Linked DNA regions of Homo sapiens: all the other regions are linked to region 3. The links are contacts of gene promoters, found by promoter capture Hi-C in blood cells and fetal thymus (Javierre and others, 2016). All regions are on one chromosome and are shown on one strand. The core of a region is centred on a gene start or on the middle of the fragment in contact, and the rest is flanking DNA. Distances in the headings are between cores, read along the strand shown. Region 1 has its middle 120 kb from the start of TMEM229A. Region 2 has its middle 160 kb from the start of TMEM229A. Region 3 holds the start of GPR37 (G protein-coupled receptor 37). Region 4 has its middle 140 kb from the start of TMEM229A.

Evidence for each region. Contacts are between HindIII fragments. The CHiCAGO score rates a contact against its expected background, and 5 or more counts as called.
Region 1: a fragment that was not itself captured here is called in contact with the fragment with the promoter of GPR37 in region 3 in 4 of 17 cell types (endothelial precursors, M0 macrophages, megakaryocytes and 1 more); the score reaches 13.7 in endothelial precursors.
Region 2: a contact is called between a fragment that was not itself captured here and the fragment with the promoter of GPR37 in region 3, in 1 of 17 cell types (endothelial precursors). The highest score is 5.9, in endothelial precursors.
Region 4: a fragment that was not itself captured here is called in contact with the fragment with the promoter of GPR37 in region 3 in 3 of 17 cell types (endothelial precursors, megakaryocytes and erythroblasts); the score reaches 8.5 in endothelial precursors.

Annotation. Positions count from the first base shown.
Region 1 is chr7:124,150,237-124,156,659 of GRCh38, reverse strand. No RefSeq gene overlaps it. Among named protein-coding and RNA genes, the nearest start is that of TMEM229A, 120 kb to the right of the region's middle. The HindIII fragment of the contact is 984 bases long and covers 3,994-4,977 here.
Region 2 is chr7:124,192,032-124,198,796 of GRCh38, reverse strand. No RefSeq gene overlaps it. Among named protein-coding and RNA genes, the nearest start is that of TMEM229A, 160 kb to the right of the region's middle. The HindIII fragment of the contact is 1,858 bases long and covers 2,084-3,941 here.
Region 3 is chr7:124,763,173-124,769,739 of GRCh38, reverse strand. GPR37 (G protein-coupled receptor 37) reads left to right here and starts at 3,948. Exons shown (of 2, transcript NM_005302.5): 1 at 3,948-5,786. The coding sequence starts at 4,764. RefSeq lists a silencer at 3,807-3,936. The HindIII fragment of the contact is 5,609 bases long and covers 1,495-6,567 here.
Region 4 is chr7:124,167,330-124,173,718 of GRCh38, reverse strand. No RefSeq gene overlaps it. Among named protein-coding and RNA genes, the nearest start is that of TMEM229A, 140 kb to the right of the region's middle. The HindIII fragment of the contact is 536 bases long and covers 4,820-5,355 here.

The sequences.
Region 1 (6,423 bases), core at 3,236-5,735, 610 kb after region 3:
TGACTTAAATATTTAGTTTCAGGAATTAAAGGCTTGACAGAAGAATAATTCATGAATTCCTAAATCATCCATTCCTGTTGTAGCTGTTATCTGACCATCAGTAAATTAGAGAAGTAATATGTTTACTTATTCGTTATGGTTTTATTAAATTATTAAAATAATGTGCCTACCATTTGGAGTATAATCTTTATTATGTTTTTCTGCTATAGACTTTCGTTTAGCCTTTGGATAGCATCCATATTCACAAAGTGCTTTGTAGTCGTTTTATACTTCTTTTCAGGGGCAGCCCTGGAAGGCTACTTACAATACTGAGAGAAAACTGTATCCCCTAGACTTAAAGAAGGCTCAAAATCCAGGGAAGAAAAACTATAGTCAAAAATGGTTTTACATTATTTTTTCTGTGCTAACAAAATCTGAAATTTATATCTTGGGTAGTTAAAAATAAAACACAAAAACTTTGTTTAGTATAGTTAATACTTTTTAAATTATTTGTAAATGTTTAGAAGCAAAAAGCTTTAAATATATTTAAGTGTTTTGAATATAAAGTCAATGGCCTATATCCTATGATCAGCAATTTTATGACTCATTTTCTTTGGTTTTATGTGTATGTGGTTTTACATATTCAACTCTCCAGGACAGGTAGACAAAACAGATGGCAGCCCGCTTATGAAATGGCCTTTATTTAATAATCTGATGATACTCATGCTGCTGTATTGAAACACTAATGGAAGCAAATGTTTCTACAAAGTTCTCTAGTGAAAAACAAGCTTGCCTTGCTATAAGCCAAAGCCTATCACATCAAAGTGCCAAGCAAAGGAAAAACAAAAAGCAATCTTTTTTTTTTTCTGTGCTGAAAAAAGTACTAGATTAATACAGATAGATTCAGTTTTTTGAAAGTCAAACTAATTGCACTTAAATGACAGTTTACAGTCCTTCATCTCATAGGAATTTTAAAAAACATGTATTTGCATTGTCCTCATTCAAAGACAATTTGAACAAATAATTTCACAGAATAAATTCAGGTCAGCACCACCATAGTCCTAAATGGCTTTACAAATACCACCCTCTAGTGTTTCAAAGAGGCAATTTGTATTCTCACTATAGAAAAGTTCAAATCATTATAACTATTGGAAAGTCAACGCTGTGAATGATACGGCCATGGGCAGACTGAACAGCATAATAAGCTCTATTTAGTGTAATCCAGTCCTTGTGAGGAACAAACTTGCTTCAATTTCTTTGGCCAGATTGCTAGTTTTTTAAAAATTTTTGAAATAAATGAATAAATATGAAACGGTAAAGCTGATTTCACATTCTACACGGATAAATGCAATAGCAAAAAGGATGCATGATCCAGTTTTCTCTGTTTTTTACTCACAAAGCAGCAGATAACATCATCTATTAATTAGTATAACCTACTTTAAAATTAAAATACGAAAACAATAATTATATTGCCGCCTAGATTTTGAATATTAGCACTGTATATAAACTCCTATAGTATATAAATGTTAATATCTAAATATAAATAGCTTATAAATGCTTGACAGGATAAGGTATAGAAGTCTCATTATCACATAATTTAACGTATTATAGAATGCAGTGTAATTGAGTCTACATTAGTGTACTATAATGAGAACATATTATAAACTAGGACATGAGCTTCTTTGCATCATTAATTGAGTAATAAATTGTCAAGCTATAAGTTTGGGAGAGGTAGTATTGATATTTATTCTGAGAAAAAAACAAAACACATGTTTATATGATAACATTAAATTCCATAGGACATTTTTTTTGAGACATGGTCTCACTACATTGCCCAGGTTGGTTTCAAACTCCTGGGCTCAAGTGATCCTCCCATTTTGGCCTCCCAACATTCTGTGATTGCAAACATGAGCCACAATGCCCAGTCAGGATTTTTTTTTAGAAGAAACATTTTCAGAAGGTTCGTAGACATTAAGCACACATTTCTGTTCTGAGGTATATGTGCTTTTAGACTATACATTTAAGAATGTAGACCTAAATTGGATTAAATTAGAACATCTAGCTACTTGGTAAATAAAGGCAAAACCACAAATTAAAAAAATACAAAAATTAAAATGAAAGAAAGAAAATGTGCATTTACTAAATACAGCAAGGTTCTGGCAGCTTCAGCCCCAAACTCATCATACCCAGGCAAGGGACCCAGGAGAACACTCAGGAAGAGGGAGCTTAAGCTGGAGGTATGGAATCAAGCAAGAGGTATGGAACTCAGAAATAACCATAACATAATAAGAAAAATGGGGGAGCTACATACAGCACAAGTGGAGCCAAGCAGGGTCCAACCGAAATGAACTGGACAGAAAAACAGACCCAGGTATAGGACAGATCCAGGGAGTTTGAAGAGAAGTCAAGCCTAGGGCTCCTGTGTTCTTTGTTTAATCAAAGGGATTTTTACTGGGCTCCTTTGGCCTTGTCTACATGTTACAAAGGGATATGGAAAAGGACTGCACACTCCTCTTTAAAAATCCCTACCATTTAATTTCCCTTCCCTCCCAGAGGCTCTTCATTGGATATATAAACATGAGAACATCAATAGAACAGAACAGAAAGAACAGACCAGAAAGTAGAGTTGAATGGAGTTGAACTCAAGTGGGCATATGTTCTAAAAAGATTCACATAAGCCAGATTTTGAAAGGGCCTCAAATTTGTGGACTTAGGCACTCAAGAGCCAAGACACAAATGCAAATGCTTCTGTTATTCCCTGACCCTTTGGTAAGTTCCACTTTTGAAATCACTTCTTCCCACAAAGCTTGGACCCCTGAGGTTGATTCTTTCTCAGGGCAATAAGTATAGAGCATGATCATAAAAGAATGAAATGGATTTTTTAATAAGCATATCAAAGAATATATACAGATGGGTTGGTCCCTGAGACTAAGGCCAGCCTTTACTTCTTAGCAACCAGAATTCTAATAACTGTCATTAACAGTACTCAGTCCAAAGTACCATATTATCAGCTTGAGTTCCCATATCTTTAAAATTAGTAGGAAGTATTTCTTATATTATTCATTTTGATTAATAACTCATATCAGTTATTTTAGAAAACTCCATTTTCATGGTTTAGAAATGAGGTACAGTTATATTATCACAGCAATAACAAAACAGAGTTAGTCAAAACTGACATTTGCCAATTTCTAAAAGCCTAATAATAGCTAATATAGAAATGAAAAATGAGGCTGACTCCCATGTACTGTGAGTCAGACTTCCAGGCTTGGAACAGCCTTATGACTCCTCTTCCTGCCCTCCAGCCTTTCCTTATGGTCTCTGATGCATGCACCAGGCTCTATCTTTGTAACTCCTCAGACTGTTGTTTAAAGGGCAGATGAAGGAGACAGGAAAAGAAAACAAAGTGAGTGAAATTTAAAAGGATAGGCAGTGGGGAAAAAAGTACACATAAAAAAATCAAATTATTTATCTTGTGTGTCTAGTACAGTCTCTGAAGATGATGCCAAAAGTGAAGTTCTGAAAAGTTCTGAGCAGGGATAGAGATAGAGAATCACCTTCCTGTTGGTCCCTGCCTGCTCCTACACTCTGGCCTGTCAGGCTCAGAACTCTACCAATAATTTTGCTGTCTCCCTCTCCTGACTTGATCTTGAAACTGCAACCCAGGGACATGAAGTGACATATTCAAGACCTTACACTGGTCATCTGTGTCAGAATTCAGACTGCTTTTCACTATAGACTCACAGGCTCTGGATTCAGCATGTATCTCAGATCCAGTACCAGATGATTCTTTCTTCTTGGAATCTAAAAGTAGCGTCACAGAGATTGCATTAGCAAGCATGAAAACTTCAACCAAAGGACCAGATGAACTTGGACTTGAGGATTAGGCATGAGTAGCCAATCTATAAAAAGAAAAGAATAAAGCAGATGTACATCTGGGATTAAGGACTTGTATGTGTGTGTTTGTGTGTGTGTGTGTGTGTGTGTGTCAGAGAAACAGAAAAACAGAGAGAAGCTTGATGACTTTTCCCTTTCCCATTCATGTGAGGCACAGTACTTCTTGCAGTTTGATCTCATAAAAGTCCCTGTATTCATAATTGTCCTCCTCAAATCCTCCTTAATGTTATTTAAGCAAACTTCTGTTTATTGTAACAACTACTTAGCTATAGGCCTCCTACCAACTAGAAAGTAAGACACATTAAGGGGCAATAATAAAAAAGTGATACTCTAGCCACTACTGACATTAGGAGAGAAGTTCTCAATCTCCATGACAGCAACTTGGCAGCTTTGTTTCACAAATGAGTGATTATTATTCTAAAAGTAAGGAAGCACAACCTGACTTTAACGCTTACTATGAAACAATAATCAAGACAGTATGGTATTGGTGAAAGAACAGACAGATAAATGGGACTGAATTGAGAATCTAGGAATAGATCCACATTAAATACAGCAAACTAATCTTCAACAAAGGACCAAAAGCAATACAGTGGAGCAAAGAAAGACTTTTCAGCATGTGGTGCTGAAACAACTGGGCATCCACAGGAAACAAAATGAATCTAGATACAGATTTTACACTCCTTGCAAAAATTAACCCAAAATGTATCATCGATTTAAATGTAAAATGCAAAACTATGAAACTCCTAGAAGATAACAGAGGGGAAAACCTAGATGACCTTGGTATGGTGATAACTTTTAGAAACAACACCAAATGCATGATCCATGAAAGCACTAATTGATAAGCTGGACTTGAGTAACATTTTTAAAACTGCTCTGCAAAAGAAAACATCAAGATAGTGAGAAAACAAGTCACAGACTGGGAGAAAACATTTGCAAAAGGCATATCTTACTAAAGGAAAACTTGACAATTAAAAAAAATAACTCAATTGGAAAATGGCCAAATATCTTAATATTAGGTTGGTGAAAAAGTAATTGCAGTTTTTGCCATTACTTACTTTTAATGGAAAAAAACCCAATAACTTTTACACCAAGTTAATACAAGCTTGTTCAGCCCGTGGCCAAGGATGGCTTTGAATGCAGCACAATGCAAATTAGTAAACTTTCTTAAAACGTTATGAGATTTTTTTGTGTGATTTTTTTTAGCTCATTAACTATCTTGTTAGTGTATTTTATGTGTGGCCCAAGACAGTTCTTCTTCTTCCAATGTGACCCAGGTAAGCCAAAAGATTGGACACCCCTGCCTTAATAGACACATCACCAATGAAAGTATACAGATGCCAAATAAGCATATGAAAAGACATTCCACATCATATGTAATCAAGGAAACATAAATTAAAACGAGATACTATACACCTATGAGTATGAGTAGATACTACTATACATCTATGAGAATGGCCAAAATCTAGAACACTGACAATAGCAAATGCTGATGAGGATGTGGAGCAACGGGAACTCACCCATTGCTGGTGAGAATGCAAAATGCTACAGCCACTTTGGAAAACAGTTTGTCAGTTTCTGACAAAACCAATGCAATCGTGCTCCTTGGTATTTACCCAAAGAAATTGGAAACTTATGTCCATACAGAAACCTGCACATGGAGGCTTATAGCAGTTTTATTTTCAAAAACTTGGAAGCAACCAAGATATCCTCCAGTAGGTGAATGGATTAATAAACTGTAGTATATACAAACAGTGAAATACTATTGAGTGCTACAAAGAAACAAGCTATCAAGTCATGAATAAACTTAATGTATAGTAGGAAACTTCAACGTATATTACTAAGTGAAATAAGCCAATCTGAAAAGGCTACAAACTGTTAATTCCAACTATATGACATTCTAGAAAATGCAAAACCAAGTAAACAATAAAAAGATCAGTGGTTGCCAGGGGGTTTGGATGGCAGAGAAATTAATATATAGAGCATAGAGGATCCTTTAGGACAATGAAATTACTCTGTATGATACTATAATGATCAGTATATGTCATTACACATAGTTTCCAATCCATAGAATGTACACCACCAAGAATGAACTCTATTATAAACATGGACTTTGGATGATGTGTCATTGTAGGACATTAATATGTGTCAATGTAGTTCATCAAGTATAACAAATTTACCACTCTAGTGGGGGATATTGATCATGGGAGAGGCTTTGCACGTATAGGGGTAGAGGTGTTCTGGAAAAATCTCTGTACTTTCCTCTTAATTTGTCTGTGAACCTAAAGCTGCTCTTAAGAATAATTTTTTTTTAAAAAGTAAACTTCTGAATAAAGAATCATAAAAATGGGTCAACATATAAACACGTGTTCTTAACAACATTTTTATTACTTAAAAGAATAGTGAATTCCAGACTACTTGTGTCTAGAATCTCTATGTACAGTGTTCAAGATAAGGAGACAGAATTAATAAGTTAACTTGCTGTGACAGGATACAGTAAGTGCTCGTAGAGAGAACCACTAACACTGAGTATAGGATATTATCCTTAATCAA
Region 2 (6,765 bases), core at 1,763-4,262, 570 kb after region 3:
GGACCACAGGAAACTTACAATCATGGCAGAAGGGGAGGCAAACACATCCTTCTTCACAAGGCAGCAGGAGAGAGAAGTGCAGAGTGAAGGGGGAAGAGCCCCTTATGAAACCATCAGATCTCATGGGAACTCACTCACTATCGTAAGAACAGCATGGGGGAACTGCCCTCATGATTCAATCACCTCCCACGAGGTCCATCCTCTAACACATGGGGATTACAATTCAGATTACAATTCAAGATGAGATTTGGGTGGGGACACAAAGCCAGACTACATCAGTCACATTCTGCTCTTTTATCTGCAAGAACAAGTGGTAGCAGGATCTGAGAACACTGCAAAACGGAGCTAAGAAGCAGCATTCACTTAGGAGGTGCCAACATTAGCAGCAGAGTCAAGACTCCTCCCCAGTGATGGTGGTGGGGCTTCCTAGAAGATGCTCAAAGGGAGAAAATATACATGGGCTTATTCCTGTAAACCAATAAGACAACCCCAAGGCCTTCCACAAAAAAACTAATAAATATTAAAATCATGCAAGAAGGGGCTATGAAACATCATAATTTGAAAAGTAATGTTATTGTGACTCCATTTTGATGTATAGGCTGATAAAGCTTGAGCCATTTTGGGTTGCATAATATTTAGGAGGGCAAAAACAAATGAAAAGATCCCTGAAGTCTCTAGGCCTAAGAAAATGGTTGTATACATTAGGACAAGTTCATACAATGAAACACTATGCAACCATCAAAAGTCATGTCGTACAAACATAGTAACTATAGTTAATAACGATGTGTTGCATATTGAAAATTGCTGAGACAGATGGTTAAGTGTTTTCACTCCCACAAAAATATAATTATGTAAGATAATGTACATGTTAATTAGCTTGGTTTAGCCATTCCACAATGTATACATTTATCAAAACATCATATTGTACACTATAAATATAAATGATTTTTATTTGTAAACTTAAAAAGAAAACGTGCTAGGCACTTAAAAATAATATTGTACAATACATGCAATAATATTTATTTATATGAGGAGATGTTCCTTATAGACTGTTTAAATGAAAAACAAAACAAAATTCTATGTAACATATGTCAAGTTGTGAATATTTATCATCTCTGGAATTATGAATAAATTTTCTCTTTGTTAGGTTTTCTGCATTTAATATCTATTCTTTCAACAATTTAAAAACTATAATTAAAAATAAACAAAATACAGTAAAATAGAGCCTATAAATTTTCCCATTGTAAGAAATTTGTCATCTATACTGAATCTCAACTAGGATGAATACAGTCTGCCTTGATAATGTCACTAAAATTTAGCTGTTGTAGATGTATGCAACCCTTCACTGCAAAATAAAAGTAGCTGCTTGGTCCCTGAACACCTTAGTAAGCAGTCAAGGTCACAACTCATCTTTTCAGGGATTTTTGCATGGCACAAGACAGATGGGGAACTTCTTTGAATGCAACTGAGAAGGAAGAATTATCACTAACTACTTAGAAAAGATGTGAAGTTTAGAAAGTGAGTGAATTCCAACTAACAGCCTTAGCCCTCCCATTCTCTTTCTTTTACCTAACTCTTTGGGCAGGTAATTTTGATAGAAACAAATAAAAATTGACCTATATGATCTCAATTCTTTTAAGTTGCATAGAACAGAAGATACTGACATATTACTTCCCCAAAATAAAGAGAAGATAGTAAGTTTCCAGAAAAGAAAAAACAAAGCAACTAATAAAGATTAGAAGTAAAAATAGCACTTGATTTCTCATCGCAAACATTGGCAGTGCTAGAAGACAATTAAACAAACTTTCCCTTTAAAGTGCTGTGAAAGAATTATAGAGCCATAGGACAATTGATCAAATATGAGGGTAGAATAAAGCTATTTTAAAATGTGTACAATTTCAAAAAAATTACCTCCCATGCACGATTTCTCAGGAAGCTATTAGAACATGTACTTCAACAAAATGCAGGAATAAACCAGTAAAGAGGAAGACATGAGAATCAAGAAACCAGGAATGCAACACAGAGAAGAGTCAAATAGAAGTCTCTGAATAGCAGCAAAGTCATACCACTGCTTCACCAAGCTTGGCAAGCAAAGCCCTCTGATGTAGCAGAGGGCAAAGTGTTCCAGGAGCTGGTTCTACAGAACAAAAATGCAACTGATAAAAGATCTCGAGGTTAGACTGCATAGAAAACAATTTCAGATTTCCTGGAGGCTGCATAAAATTTAACTATTTAAAGATAATTAAAGAAGCATTAAAAATAAGAAGATTATCATCTCCAGCAAAATATAGAAAGTAGTACAGGGAACAAAATATAATTAGAGAATTTTTGCTCAAAGAAAACCATCTTTACATTGTAACAGGAAAAAATGTGTGTGGGTTTTACCAAATTTTTATTTAGAAATGATAAGGAAATAAGAAGTCTAAATGGTTCCAAATTCTAGTATGTCAAAATAGGAAATCAAGTGATAATATCTAAAAGTGATGAATCAACAAATAGCTATAGTCAATGGTATTTACATACATAGAACTAAATATTAGAAGGAACAACCAAAGAATTGAACATCTTTGCCTGTGAAGAGTCACTTAGGGATTCGAAGGGAAAAGCAGACTGATGCTTTTTTTGTCTCAGCACTATGCGATTTTTAAAATTGTTTTCCCACAATATATTGATACAACTAAAAATTATTTTAAAATTAAAAGTTTCTTCAGTGCTCCCCTCTGTCAAATCTTTAAAAGAATGAAAGAATCATATTTATTTTCCAAGTCAGTCTAAACAAAGTTTTAAGTCCATGCCTGAGATTTTATCCACAGCGTACAGCAACATTTCTGTCTTGCCAAATTGAGTTTGTTCAGCAGCTTAGAAACACTGGCAAGATACAAAACTAGTGCAAGCATATTTTATTTAAAAAATAGTTAGCAATATACTTTCTTTATCTGTAACATATTTGGTGAATTATTCATACTAAAACCCTGCAAATAAAGTTAGACATAAAAAATGCCCACATAATTAAAAATAATTTTGAAAAGTTTACAATAAAAATATACCCTGATAAAACTTGCATTTTGTATGAAAACTAACCAATGGTGTTTGAAAGATGTTGTCTGACTAAATCCTATAGAACATATAAGTAGCAAGTGAAGCTGACATTTCCTGAAGACGTAACACATCGTAAGCCGACTTTAAGACCTAGCTGTAGGTTAAGACGCAAGTCCTCTATCTTGTTTCATCTTCATCAAAACAAACAATCTAGTAATGTGTATTGGGATTCAGAGGCTTATTATATAAATCAGAAGTAAAGCCCGTAGAAAAGTAGAGTTTAAAATTTTCTTCTCAGGAGTTCACTGCCAATTAGGAATTTTACAACAAATACAAATGAAGAATGTTTTGAGTGCCCATAAATCTGAATAGGGCTGTATCCCAAAGCTATATACATTCTAATTTTATGAGAATTGGGAGAGGACTTAAAGGATAATACTAACTATATGTGATTTTCTCAGAGGTCTAATTTGATAATAAAATCCTTGTGCAAGATTCAGCTCTGCTTTACAAGGACTTCTTGAACATTACAATATAAGGAGATACCTCACCTGCAGAGTTTTCTACTTTTGTGATCATTCTATCAGCACAGGTGTCACTATGTGCCAACTTATTTGAGAGAGTATAAAATGTTAATCTTAAACATTTAATATTTTCTTCTTCTATTAGGTATATGTCACTTATTTTAAAAGTAGCAAGCCTCTTCACATTAATCTAACAAAACACATTACAAAAAAAAGACAAGCATAGTAATTGACAGCTTCTGATTTGTCACCACTAGACTGTAAAAATGTTACATAATTTCTGTCTTCAAATGAGTAGATGTATACATCAATCAGGATTTTGTATAATTGAATATGACAGAAAACCAAAATCATAGTTCCATAGACAAGACAGAAGCTTATATTCTGTTTTTTGTTTGTTTGTTTGTTTTTGAGATAGAGTCTTGCTCTGTCGGCCAGGCTAGAGTGCAGTGGCACAATCTCGGCTCACAGCAACCTCCACCTCCCGGACTCAAGCAATTCTCCTGCCTCAGCCTCCCGAGTATCTGAGATTATAGGTATGTGCCACAAAGCCCGGTTAATTTTTGTATTTTTAGTAGAGATGGGGTTTCATCACGTTGGTGAGACTGATCTCGAACTCCTGACCTCAGATAATCCACCCACCTTGGCCTCCCAAAGTGCTGGGATTACAGGCATGAGCCACCGTGCCTGGCCAGAAGCGTATATTCTTTTGTATAAAGGAATTCATAATAGGCAGCCCTGGGCTAGTAAGGTAGATTCTCAAGCCCAACAGAGATGCTGATCTACCATGCCTCAGTTGAGCAACATTGCTGCCAGAGTTCCAGCAATCACATTAGGTTTCAGGTAATGGGATGGAGAAAAGGAACAATAAAGATCAGAGGCACTCTCAGAATCCGCCATATAAAATTTCTACTTACATGACCACACCCAGTATAAAGAAGGATAGAAAACGCAGTCTTCATTCTTGGTGGTCTGTGCCCAGTGAAAAACTGTGGTTTCCTTTCTTAGGAAAGAGGAAAAGGATATTATAAAAGACAACTTGCCGCCACTGCCACCATGTGCATGCTTAGATACTTCTCTATGCTATATCAGGCAGTGGTAATCATTGTTGAGTGAAACTATAGAATGCTAGAGGAAAACCTGGGAAAACTTTTCTGGATGTTGGTTTAGGCAATTAATTCATGAATAAGATCTCAAAAGCAAATGCAACTAAAACAAAAATAGACAAATAGGACTTAATTAAACTGAAAAGCTTCTGCACAGCAAAAGAAATTATCAACAGAGTGAACAGACCACCTACAAAATGGGAGAAAAATATTTGCAAACTATGCGTCAACATAACACTAATTTCCAGAATCTACAAGGAACCCAAACAAGAAGAAAATAAATAACACCATTAAAAGTGTGCAAAGGATATTGTGATGGTTAATATGGAGTGTCAACTTGATTGGATTGAAGGATGTCAAAGTATTGTTCCTGAGTGTGCCTATGAGGGTGTTGCCAAAGGAGATTAACATTTGAGTCCATGGACTGGGAGAGGTAGACCCACCCTCAATCTGGGTGGGCACCATCTAATCAGCAGCTGCCAGCTTGGCTTGAATAAGCAGGCAGAAGAACGTGGAAGGACTTGACTCACTGAGTCTTCCAGCCTTCATCTTTCTCCTGTGCTGAATGTTCCCTGCCCTTGAATATCAGACTCCAAGTTCTTTGGCTTCTGGACTTTTGAACTTACACCAGTGGTTTGCCAGGGGCTCTCAGGCTTTTGGCCACAAATTGAAGACTGCACTGTCAATTTCCCTACTTTTGAGGTTTTGGGACTTGGACTGGCTTCCCTGCTCCTCAGCTTGTAGACATCCTATTGTGGGACTTCGTCTTGTGATTGTGTGAGTCACTATTCCTTAATAAACTCCCCTTTATATATATTTATATATATACATATATATACCCACACATACATATAGATATATAGCCTATTAGTTCTGTCCCTTTAGAGAACCCTGACTAATACAGATTTGAACAGACATCTTTCAAAAGAAAACATACAAATGGTCAGCAAACATATAAAAAATGCTCAACATCACTAATCATCAGAAAAATGCAAATCAAAACCACAATGAGATACCATCTCACAATAGTCAGTATGGCTATTATCAAAATGTGAAAAAATAACAAATGATGACAAGGATGGGGATAAGACAGAACACTTACATCCTTTTGGTGGAAATGTAAATTAGTAAAATCTCTATGGAAAACAGTATTGAGATTTCTTAAATAACTAAAAATAGAACTACCATTTGATCTAGCAATCCCACTACTGGGTATCTACTCAGAGGAAAACAAATCATTATACCAAAGATATCTGCACTCATATGTTTGTCTCAGCACTATTTACCAAAGCAAACATATGGGATCAACTTAAACATCCATGAACAGATGATTAGTTAAAGAAACGATAAACACACATACAAATACCATCAAATACTACTCAGCCATAAAAATGAATGAAACCATCTCTTTTGCAGCAGTATGAGTGGAACTGGAGGCCACTATCCTAAGTGAAATTACTCTTACACAGAAAGTCAAATACCACATATTCTCACTTATAAGTAGAAGCTAAAGAATGTGTACACATGGACACAGAGAATGGAATAGTAGACACTGGAGACTCAGAAATGTGGGAGAGTCGGGATATGAAGGATTAAAGATTACCTAATAGGTACAATGTACAACCTTTGGGTGATGGTTACTCTTGTAGCTCTGACTTCACCATTACACAATATATCCATATAACAAAACTGCACTTGTACCCTCTAAATCTATAAAAATAATTTTTTAAAAATGAAAGCTCATATAACATCCTTGCCATAATGTCACATGTATAAACTTTAATGAGATTTTTCTCAATGTTAACATCTCCCTCACCTACCAAGTGGTAACTTTAGGCTAAAAGTACATTTTCATTTTCAGGTTTTAATTTATTTCCATAGATTTTTGTCTTCCAAAGAAATGGAGAGTCTTATTTACATGCTTACTGTGCTGTTGCAAGATGCTATTTTATCTTTGCAGGGATAACAGGAATATTTTACATTTCATTGTATTAAATACATTGAGGCAATGAGTAATGTTTTTACTCTGTTTTGAAATAAAATTTGAACCTCTAGTACAAATAATTGTCATTGTATTTTCTCATCTTCAAGTGACT
Region 3 (6,567 bases), core at 2,699-5,198:
GAGGCTTCCAAACTAACAATTAATAATTCAGTGACAGAAAGGCTGCAACCACAAACTATTTGGAAAACAGACAAATTTTGAATTTCAGAAAATAATAATCTATTGGTGGTATGTTACAGTTTCTTTCAGAAAAAATGACCCTTTTGAATTATCTGAGGCAAAAAAGAAAGAAAATTATTTGATAAGTGAATTGTGTGCTGGGTAAAGCTTCTGTTCAACGATGTATCTTAAAACTTGAAATAGTAATTTCTCTCATTCTGTGATGTGTGTTATTTCAGCACACCAAACACCAAATGAAGTGTAATAGATTTTATAAAAATGCCAAGGCAGGTAATAATTTACATGTTCTTTTTTTATTAAAAAAATCAATAGTATGTATTATAAACCTTGTGAAATGCTGACACAGGAAAAAAAATCCATGTTCAAATCAGTTTTCTTTGTACAGATAAATGGCCTCAGATGTAAACCAGACAATGATTAGCTAATTCCTTTTCTGATCTATATTTCTAAAGTAGAATCTACACAAATGAATGAGATGTGACTATTTCCATTTAAAATTTATAGTTACAGCTGAGCTAAGCTTTGGAAAAATATTTGAAGATGTGTGTTTTTCTTTTTGCAGGGAATGCATTCTAAATTTTCTTATAAACCTATTACTTTACACTTTTATTTACCAAGCATATTCTTTTTCAAGGATTATGTGTTTTTGACAGCATTTAAATTTCACTAAAAACAAAGTTGAACTACCAAGAGCAACAGTAATAAATATTTTATACTTTATGTAGTCTTTTCATATCTACCTAATCCACATAACAACTTGGGTGAGCAGAGCTGAGAGTAGGTATTAGTATCCTTATTATACAGATGAGAAAATTGTGTTTCCAAAAATATAAATAATTGATATTTTTGGAAACACAATTTTATAAATAATTGATATTGACCTGGGCTCCAATAGAGTAGCTGGAGCTCTTTGGTTTTATTCATGGTCCGAATAAGTTAGAGAACCAGAACTTGGCAACCATCCAAGTAGGTAGGCATCATTGTTCAGGTTAAGGAAGGGACCACTCATGAATGAGATACCACCACAGACAAACACAGGTAGCTCCTCCTTCAGGCCTTTCCCCAGCCACTCTCCAAGCATGGTACCTGAGTTCTATAGCCCACCACTTTAAGAATGATGCCCAACTCTGGGCCAAGCATGTGTGAATTACAATGGAGCTTCTAAGGGAGCAGGTAAAGGGATTTTTCCCTGTTTAGCTTTGATTCCTTTCTGTGTAGTGATAGAGATTAGTGACACATTTATGTGGTCTAGAGTAAAAAGGATAGAAACATATCTTACATGTGTAACTTAAACTCTAAGCTAATGAGATGAGAAGGGAAGCTATATCACTGTTTCATTTTGGCAACTTATTTTTCCTGTTTCATTATTAATCCAGATTTCCCTCTTCTAAATTTTTTTTAAAGAAACAAGATACTACAGTTAGAGTAGAAGCTTCCTTCCATCCCATGACCATTCTTCTATTTCCTGAGGTGACTAATATTCTGAAGTTGATCTGTATTTATTCCATTCACATATTTTATATGATACACCATGTATGATTATCAAATTGTTTTATGTGCATTTTAAGAGCTACACAAATGGTAGCATTATATAGTTAACACATCAAGTTCTACGTTTTTCCCTTACATTTATGTTTCTGAGATTCAGTCTTGGTGATACACATAAGCCTAGTTTGTCCTTTTTATGAGTATACAAGAAAATATAAATTCAGTGAGAGCAGAACTTTATTTTATTCACTGCTCTGACCTAAGTAACTTGAGCAGAATATTTCTTTAATGAAGTAGTGAATTTGAGAGAATGAGTTAGTGTATATAAATGAATGAATTAATGTACAAATGAATGTGTGCTATTAGCTTATATTTTTTCCTATTTCTGGCTTTGTCTGATTTTGACATTAAGGTTATTCTGCCTTCACAAAATGAACTGAGTAGCTTTAAAACATTTTGTATAAATGTATATTTATTCCGCAGGATATGCTAAGGTCTAGCACTTTCCTCTGGGTAGATCTTGATGAATGATTTGATTTCTTTAATGTTATAGTTCGATTACAGTTTCTGAAAATTTTCTTCTTGAACTATTTTTGGTAGTTTATGTTTTTCTATACAATTATTCCTGTTGTCTCCATTTTTAGATTTAATGGTGTATTAGTTTACTATTGCTACTGCAACAAATAACCATAAATTTTGTGGCTTAAAACAACACACATTCATTATCTTACAGTTATGGAGGTCAGAAGTCTCAAATGGGCTAGTAGATCCTTTTTTATGCCCATTCTAGCTTCCAGAGATTGCCCACATCACTTGGCTTGTGTTTGTTTTTACTCTGACCCTCCTGCCTCTCATTTGTAAGGGCTCTTGTGATTATAGTGTACCCACCTGGATAATCACGATACTCTCCCCATCTCAAGAGTCTTAGCTGAATTGCATTGGCAAAATCCCTTTTGCTCTGTAAGGTAACATACTCACAGGTATTAGGAATTAGGATTCGGACATTTTTTTGGGGGGGCATTATTCTATTTACCACAATTGGTATCATATGTTCCATTGTGTTTTCTCCTGCCTCTCTAGATGTGTTGCTTTAAAAAAATTCAGGCCGGGTGTGATGGCTCACGCCTGTAATGCCAGCGCTTTGGGAGGCCGAGGCGGGCGGATCACGAGGTCAGGAGCTCAAGACCAGCCTGGCCAACATAGTGAAACCCCGTCTCTGCTAAAAATACAAAAAAAATTAGCCGGGCATGGTGGCGGGTGCCTGTAGTCTCAGCTACTTGGGAGGCTGAGGCAGGAGAATCGCTTGAACCCGGGGAGGCGGAGGTTGCAGTGAGTCGAGATCGCACCACTGCACTCCAGCCTGGGCGACACAGCAAGACTCTGTTTAAAAAAAAAATTCAGAATGTGTTTATTTCTTCCTCTATCATTTTCTCTTCATTAATTTGTCTATTTTATTAGCTATGCCCTGACAGTTTTGACAGGGTTGTGGGATATAGTAGAAAGGTTGGAAAGGCATGGACAGCCGTGCTGGGAGTGCTGTTCGAGTAATTTTCTGCCTCCAGTCATTTCCCACTACTTCATCAAATACAACTACCTCACTATGCTCTGGGTGGTACGAAGTAACCCATGGTAGGATGCTTCCCAACTCAGTGTTAAAGGTAATGGTGCATCCTGAGCTTTCTCGCTCTGCATCTCAATCCTGGAACTGGTAATTCTCTATGACTGACACCTCTGAGCTCCCATTCTCTCCTATCTCTAGGGAATACCTGAGGAGGTGAGGTTTCACCTTCTTACTCCCCGCGGCCCAACCCCCGTCCGCCCCTCCCCCGCCCCGCCCCTCGCCCCCCAGAGCTGAGACCTGGGCATGCGCATCAGCCGCAACAGATTGGAGGGGACCCTGCTGCTCACTCCCCTGCTACCCTCCTCTCTTCCCTCCCCCGACCGCTCTCATATTCCCGTTCCCACCCCCACCCCCCACTCCCGCCCCGCACCCGCCCCTAGCCCGGGCTCGGGGACCTGTCAGGCTGGTTTCGACAGCTGGGGAATTAACCTGTCCCGCCCATCCCTAGCCTCGAGCCGCGCAGGCTCCGCGCCTCCGCCCTTGTTCCCTCCCAGCTCCTCCGAGTGGAAGCCGCTACAAATGGCTTGAATGAAACGTGTGTGGGTTTAGTGAGTGGTGAACCACCAGGGGATCCCGTCTCCCCACAAACCAGTATCTCTCCGAGGAGGAGGCGAAGGAGTGGGAGGAGGCAACGAGCCGAGAGTCGAGCTTCGCGGGCGCGCGCAGCGGCTGGAGCGCGGGGGCGAGGCCGGGCCACCTCCCCTTCCCGGCCGCGCACTGCCTGGCCCGCGGCGGTTCCAGGCACCACCCTTCCCGTCCGGGCTGAGCCCGCTGTGGCAGTGACTAGCTCCCGCGGCTAGCGGCACTGTCCACCGACGAGCGGCGCCCTCTTCTCCCCCTTCTCCCCACGATTTCCTTCTCTGCGGCGGCACGCCGTCCAGCAGCCTGCTTCGCCCCGTCGTCAACTTTGAGCTGGAGGAGAAGCAACTTTGGCAGTGGCCGCGGGGTTGGAATCCCGCTTCTCCTCGGCAGCAGTAGGCTCGCAAGTCGCTGGGGTTAGGTGGGGCAAGAGTTTCGCCGGCGCATCAGCGCTGCTTCGGACTGTTTGCAACGTGTTTCCAGCGAGCTGGGAGCGGGGTTGTGACTGCGAGTCGTCTGGGGGAGGGGGACTTGTTTTTCTTTTCCTCTAGAGACCTCGGCTTGCAACTGGATCAAACGCTGTCGAAAGGATGTAAATAGGCAGAGCAACTGTTACCAAGAAGGCCACCACCCCCACCCAAAGGCAGTGAGGAGTGTGGGGCTTCGTCTGGGCTCCCCCGAGTCTCAACAGTAATCAACAGTCAGGTGTTGATTGCAACTTTTCAAGGTCAGCCACCGGGAGTAGCCTATTCCCTCTAGGAACCTTGGAGGGCATACCTTGCTGGGACTCAACTTGGCTGAGAAATGCACAAGATGCCAAAGGAGGAAGGATTATAGGGGGCGTGTGTGTGACCCCCAAGACCGATCTTCCGCTATCACCCTAATCTCCGGTTCCCCGCTACCCGGGCGGGGGTGAGTATGTGACATGTGCCTAACTCTCAGCAGCAACTTCGGCAGCAGGTGTCGATCCTAACTAAGCAGGAGCTGCGGCTGCCGGGTGTGCCCTCACCAAGCCATGCGAGCCCCGGGCGCGCTTCTCGCCCGCATGTCGCGGCTACTGCTTCTGCTACTGCTCAAGGTGTCTGCCTCTTCTGCCCTCGGGGTCGCCCCTGCGTCCAGAAACGAAACTTGTCTGGGGGAGAGCTGTGCACCTACAGTGATCCAGCGCCGCGGCAGGGACGCCTGGGGACCGGGAAATTCTGCAAGAGACGTTCTGCGAGCCCGAGCACCCAGGGAGGAGCAGGGGGCAGCGTTTCTTGCGGGACCCTCCTGGGACCTGCCGGCGGCCCCGGGCCGTGACCCGGCTGCAGGCAGAGGGGCGGAGGCGTCGGCAGCCGGACCCCCGGGACCTCCAACCAGGCCACCTGGCCCCTGGAGGTGGAAAGGTGCTCGGGGTCAGGAGCCTTCTGAAACTTTGGGGAGAGGGAACCCCACGGCCCTCCAGCTCTTCCTTCAGATCTCAGAGGAGGAAGAGAAGGGTCCCAGAGGCGCTGGCATTTCCGGGCGTAGCCAGGAGCAGAGTGTGAAGACAGTCCCCGGAGCCAGCGATCTTTTTTACTGGCCAAGGAGAGCCGGGAAACTCCAGGGTTCCCACCACAAGCCCCTGTCCAAGACGGCCAATGGACTGGCGGGGCACGAAGGGTGGACAATTGCACTCCCGGGCCGGGCGCTGGCCCAGAATGGATCCTTGGGTGAAGGAATCCATGAGCCTGGGGGTCCCCGCCGGGGAAACAGCACGAACCGGCGTGTGAGACTGAAGAACCCCTTCTACCCGCTGACCCAGGAGTCCTATGGAGCCTACGCGGTCATGTGTCTGTCCGTGGTGATCTTCGGGACCGGCATCATTGGCAACCTGGCGGTGATGTGCATCGTGTGCCACAACTACTACATGCGGAGCATCTCCAACTCCCTCTTGGCCAACCTGGCCTTCTGGGACTTTCTCATCATCTTCTTCTGCCTTCCGCTGGTCATCTTCCACGAGCTGACCAAGAAGTGGCTGCTGGAGGACTTCTCCTGCAAGATCGTGCCCTATATAGAGGTAATGCCTTCCAGGGGCTCTCAAGCTAGTGGCTTTATCTGTTTTCGGGATTATAGCATCAGAGAACTGCTGCTGGATGCACCTATCTAGCTGAACGCCTTTCCTTTTTATCTGGGGCCCTCTTTCATTTCTCTTTCCAATCATTTATGCATGTATGTATATACAAAAAGAGGCAGCTTCGCGAAATCACCTTCAAATTCATCTGCTCCTGGGCTGTAAAAAAAGGATGATCTCACAATATACAGAATTGTTTGGAGTATAAATCTATCTCCCTGAATATGGTGTTATGCGTATTTCTGATTTGGCACTTGTCAGAGATTTTAGGGTTAAGTAAATGGCCAGCCTAAGGTTGTCATCATCAGAGCCTACAAGGAAAAAAAAAAAAACATTAGCATTTGTGTACTAGTTACCAAGTGCTTCAATGTGAGTTTTCCCCCAAGAAGATTATTGCATTTTTTCTTAAACAGCAAAGTTGGAGTAACATTTTATTGAAAGAAAGAAAGAAAGAAAATTGTGTTTGTCAGTTGGCCTCATGATATATTAATAACCTCTCAAATTAGTTTAAGTGTCTGACTGTCTTCCATGCTATCCCATCTAAATTCTTAAGTCATTTTTTGTTCCTGTCTTTTCCCATCTCGGTTTCTTAATTTTATTTTTGTGTGTTTGCGTGAACTTAAGCAAAAATAAGACTTTGGCCAGCGTGGCACATAATTTGTTTAACATTCTCAAAGTTATACATTTGTTATTTGTTATGGGTGGAAAGATTGGCTATTTTAAGGGA
Region 4 (6,389 bases), core at 3,838-6,337, 600 kb after region 3:
CAGGGCAATCAGGCAAGAGAAAGAAATAAAGGGTATTCAATTAAGAAAAGAGGAAGTCAAATTGTCTCTGTTAGCAGATGACATGATTGTATATTTAGAAAACCCCATCATCTCAGCCCTGAATCTCCTTAACTGGTAAGCAACTTCAGCAAAGTCTCAGGATACAAAATCAATGTGCAAAAATCACAAGCATTCTTATACACCAATAACGGACAAACAGAAAGCCAAATCAGGAGTGAACTCCCATTCACAATTGCTACAAAGAGAATAAAATACCTAGGAATACAGCTTACAAGGGATGTGAATGACCTCTTCAAGGAGAACAACAAACAACTGCCCAAGGAAATAAAAGAGGATACAAACAAATGGAAAAACATTCCATGCTCATGGATGGAAAGAATCAATATCATGAAAATGGCCATACTGCCCAAAGTAATTTATAGATTCAATGCTATCCCCATCAAGCTACCACTGACTTTCTTCACAGAAATGGAAAAAACTACTTTAAATTTCATATGGAACCAAAAAAGAGCCCACATTGCCAAGACAATCCTAAGCCAAAAGAACAAAGCTGGAGGCATCACACTACCAGACTTCAAACTATACTACAAGGCTACAGTAACCAAAACAGCATGGTACTGGTACCAAAACAGATATATAGACCAATGGAACAGAACAGAGGCCTCAGAAATAACACCACACATCTACAACCATTTAGTCTTTGACAAACCTGTCAAAAACAAGCAATGAGCAAAGGATTCCCTGTTTAATAAATGGTGCTGTGAAAACTGACTAGCCACATGCAGAAAGCTGAAACTGGATCCCTTCCTTACACCTTATACAAAAATTAACTCAAGATGGATTAAAGACTTAAATATAAGACCTAAAACCATAAAAACCCTAGAAGAAAACCTAGGTAATACCATTCAGGACGTAGGCATGGGCAAAGACTTCATAACTAAAACACCAAAAGCAATGGCAACAAAAGCCAAAATAGACAAATGAGATCCAATTAAACTAGAGAGCTTCTGCACAGCAAAAGAAACTATCAGCAGAGTCAACAGGCAACCTGCAGATTTGGAGAAAATTTTTGCAATCTATCCATCTGACAAAGGGCTAATATCCAGATCTACAAAGAATTTAAACAAATTTACAAGAAAAAAAACCCAAAAAACCCCATCAAAAAGTGGGCAAAGTATATGAACAGACACCTCTCAAAACAAGACATTTATGCAGCCAACAGTCATATGAAAAAATGCTCATCATCACTGGTCATAAGAGAAATGCAAATCAAAACCACAATGAGATATCATCTCATGCCAGTTAGAATGGCAATCATTAAAAAGTAAGGAAACAACAGATGCTGGAGAGGATGTAGAGAAATAGGAACACTTTCACACTGTTGCTGGGAGTGTAAATTAGTTCAACCATTGTGGAAGACAGTGTGGCGATTCCTCAAGGATCTAGAACTAGAAATACTATTTGACCCAGCAATCCTATTACTGGGTATATACCCAAAGGATTATAAATAATTCTACTATAAAGACACAGGCACATGTATGTTTAATGCAGTACTGTTCACAATAGCAAAGTCTTGGAACCAATCCAAATGCCCATCAATTATAGACTGGATAAAGAAAATGTGTCATGTATACACCATGGAATACTATGCAGCCATGAAAAGGGATGAGTTCATGTCCTTTGCAGGGACATGGATGAAACTGGAAACCATTATTCTCAGCAGAGTAACACAAGAAGAGAAAACCAAACACTGCACGTTCTCGCTCGTAAGTGGGAGTTGAACAATGAGAACACAGGGACAAAAGGAGGGGAACATCACTCACACACCAGGGCCTGTTGGGGGGTGGGGGCTGGGGGAAGGATTAGCATTAGGAGAAATACCTAATATAAATGATGAGTTGATGGGTGCAGCAAACCAACATGGCACATGTATACCTATGTAACAAACATGCACATTGTGCACATGTACCCTAGAACTTAAAGTATAATTTTACAAAAAAGATAAAAAAATACAGCACTTTCCTGAGTTCTCTGAGTCATTCCTGTGAATTATTACATCTGAAGGGAGTCATTGGAATCCCCAACTTTACACCCAGTTAATCAGAAGTGTAGGTAACCTGAGAACCCCCTTAACTTGTGTCTGGCATCTAAAGTGGGGGTGGTCTTGTTGGGGACCCTGGCCTTAAATTTGTCTGGTTTGACACTATCTCTGGGTGGTTAGTGTCAGAATTGACTTTCAGTGTACCAGTTGGCCTTGGAATAGCTGAAGTTAAAGCAGAATGTTCTTCTTATATTTAACCAAGCAGTATCACTATTTCATAAAGTGTTTTATGAAACTTGATTTTATAAAGCCTGATTTGGAAACTTAAACAGAAAAGACAAGAAGGAAGCATGTTTCCAAATTTTAGGAGCTGGCTGCCCCCTGCTGACACTGTCATAGTCACTACTAGCATGGGAGTCTAAAAGTTGATTCCCTTAGTTTTTGAAACAACTAATTATATAAAATGGAAACACTCTCTGAAACTTGTTTCCAGCGTTTGTTTAGCTCAGTGGTCCATTCCTTGATATTTAAAGGCTACTGGAAACTTTTGGATTTTAATCAACTAAGTATTGAGGTAAAGAGGCTGCTACTCAGTGATAAATAGTCTAAAGCCTAAATTTAATCAGTCTCTCTAACTTTCTCTCAGGTAAAACATAGCAAGCCTGTGTTTCCCTCTGTGTGATCTTGGCAAGCCACATTAACACAACAAGCTCACACTTCCTCATCTTTAAATTGAAATTATTTTACAAAATGATCTCTGAGTTCTCCTCCATGTAGGAGGTTATAAATTTTTCAAGAAGGAAGTAATCAAGAAACTTAACATATCAAAATAAAATTACACAAGGTAGTAAAAATTTCTAATCTTCCAATTCCAAGGTTTTAGAACTTCAAAAGCTTTATAAATTTTTAAGACACTCTTTTCTCCCGTGAGGCCCAGAGAGAAGTCATGTGTAATGTTCCTCAAATATGCAGAGCAAAAAGATAAAGTGGTTAGGGAGAAGGGCTGGGACCTCATACTTTACCCACTAATGTGACAAAGATGCAGTGCTGAAAGATTTTGTAAACTCTAGGTAAACTTTGAGAACACATAACAGGTGGAGTTACCCTGAAACAAATGCTGATATAAAAGTGTTAATTAGTTGAAAACACACAACCTAAAATTTTAGGATTGAATCAGTGATGGTAGAAGGGGCTGGAGTAGCATAAGACGGGGAACATCACCTGGCTCTAGCAAAAGCAAACACAAACACTGTGGGAATTTAAGCACTCTCAGTTTAGTCAACTAGGTTTTACATATGTAAAGATCAACAAAATATGTAGAGTAGTCCTCTTATCCAGTGTTTCACTTTCCACGGCTTCCATCACCCACAGTGAATCATGGTCAGAAAATATTAAATGGAAAATTCCAGAAACAAACTATTTACAATTTTTTAATTGCATGCCATTCTAGGTGGTGTGATGAAACCTCTTTCCATCCTGTTTCATCAATTCATCTCAATCACATAGTCATTTCATCTCACGTCATTACAAGAAGAAGGGCGGGTACAGACGGTACAATAACACGTTTTGAGAGACAGAGGCCACATTCACATAACTTTTATGACAGTAAATTGCTGATAATTGTTCTATTTTATTATTGTTGTTAATCTTTTACTGTGTCTAATTTATAAGCTTTATTATAAATATTCAAGTATAGGGAAAAACATAGCATATCTAGGGCTCAGTTCTATTTGTGGTTTCAGGCATCCACTGGAGGTCTTGGAACATGCCCTGTGAATAAAGGGGAACTACTCTACTACCAATAAACATACATCAAAGGAGATAATAGATGTACTTCAGAGGAAAGGAAAGTAACCCTAAATGGAAAATCTGAGATGCAAGAAAGAATGAAGAGCGTAAAAAAATGATATATTTGTGTATTTGTTATTCAGAACAGGCTAGTTATATTAGGGCAATACATCAACCCCGAAAGCTCAGTGGCTTAACATAACGAGGTCTTTTTTTCACTCAAACTACATAACCAACAACAGTCACTAAGAGAATCTGCTCCAAAAAGTCACAGTGGTACCAAGGCTAATAGAGTTCCGTCTTCATGCAGCTGTACAACTGAAACATATAGTCTCTCAAGATGTCATGGTTGGGAAAGAAAACACATGGGAATATACATAGAAGTACATATGTCACCACTTCCAATCATAGCCCATTGGTCAGAATTAGTCATGTAACTCCATCCAACTACAAAAGAGCAGGCAATATAATAAAATTAAAATATTCATAACAAAGACTTGTCCACTGGGGAATTCAATCTTCTGGAGTCCTTGTATTATTTGGAAAGAGAATAAAGATATGTTTAGTAGTAGAACCAATTCTTCTCTTACCTCTCTAAATGAAAACTCAGGCAGATGCACTGACTTTTCTCTTCCCTGCTAGGCAAAACAAACTGTATACAGTCATTCCACACCACAAAATAAAGACTTGTTTAATGATTTAAATGCCCATGACCATACAATTGAAAAACTTTAATCTTGGTTTAAAATCCTAGATGGGATATGTAGGAGTCAGGAAGGGTGGGAGTAATCAGATTACTCTTTTTCCATTTTAGTTTCACTCCTTCTATCCCAGATTGCAAGATTTCTGCTGGTCCTTTGGAGTAGACATTGGGGGCAAGCACAGGAGTAAGAAAATAAGAAAATAATTTAATTTGTATAGCACTGGTAATCTTGTGTCAGCTTTCTGAACATTAAAAATGTTTAAGCTTCAGCTTTTTTATCTTAGGCAGTTGGAAACACTTCCCCTATTCCCACTTCAGTGCTAATCTAGGGAATCGCTCATCTGCAGTTCTCTTGGCAGGGAACCTTCTAGCCAGCTCTAACTTGGTCCTCACCACTAAAAATTCTATAAACCAGGCTTTTTATTTTGAGCTTCTCAATATACGTGCAGAATCTCAAAAGTGATACAGCTACTCAAAAAAGGGTGGGAGTGTCTTGATGTCTATACAACTTTTTTAAAAAGAAAACAAATTCACTATTCATCTTTTATTTTCCATGTCCACACAGAGCATAAGACTAAACAATTTTTGATATGTTTAGTAACATTAACTTTGAATTGAAAAATCTTTTTTTTTATATGGGTCTCACTATGTTGCCTAGTCTGGTCTTGAACTCCCAGACTCAAGCAATCCTCCCACTTCAGTCTCCCAAGTAGCTGGAAATACAGTCGTGAGCCACCATGCCTGGCAAAAGATCCATTATTATAACATAAAGGAAGCAAAACCTTTTGCCAAACAGAAAGCTTACACTACTTGAAAAATGACTTCATAAAATTCTAAAATCTTCTCAAAGCTATAATAAATATCTTAATTGTTCTAGTTGTCATCATCATCATTGTTGTTGAAGTTATGACTCTTTTTGTGACTACCATTATTACTATTCTTATCATGAACCGAGCAATATTTGATAGGCACTTTATGTGCCATCCCTTCTTACCTTTAGAACAATCAAAACTAATAAAAAGAAGATATTATTGGTCCCATTTTTATGCTTTGCTTACTTAGTTTTCTCTTTGTTTTTACATTCAGGGGATAGCTGTGCAGGTTTGTGGCATGGGTGTACTGTATAATGCTGCGTTTTTGGCTTCTAGTGAACCTATCACCCAAATATTTAACATTGTACCCAATAGGTAGTTTTTCAGCCCTTTCCCCCAGGCTTCTCTCCCCAATTTTGGAGTTCCCTGTATCTATCATTTTCATATGTATAACCCTGTGTACTTATTGCTTGGCTCTCTCTTATAGGTGAGATGGTGTAGTATTTGATTTTCTGTTTAAATGTTAATTCACTTAGCACAGTGGCCTCCAACTATGTCCACGCTGCTGCAAAATTTCATTCTTTATATGGCTGTGTAGTATTCTACGGTGTATATGTGCCACATTTTTTAAATCTAATCCACTGTTGTCGGTCACTTAGATTGATTCCATGACTTCGCCATTATGAATAGTACTGCAACAAACATACAAGTGCAAGTGTCTTTTTGATAACATGATTTATTTTCCTTGGGAAGATACCCAGTTGTGGGATTTCTGGGTCAAATGGTAGTTCTGTTTTCAGTTCTTTGCAAAATCTCCATACTGTTTCCCATAAGGGTTGAACTCCTTAACATTCCCACAAGTGTATAAATGACCCCTTTTCTCTGCATCCTCACCAACATCTGTTATTGTTTGATTTTTTGATAATGCCATTTTGACTAGAGTAAGATAAACATTTCATTGCAGTTTTGATTTGCATTTCTCTGCTGATTCCAGATGTTGAGCATCTTTTTACATGTTTGTTAG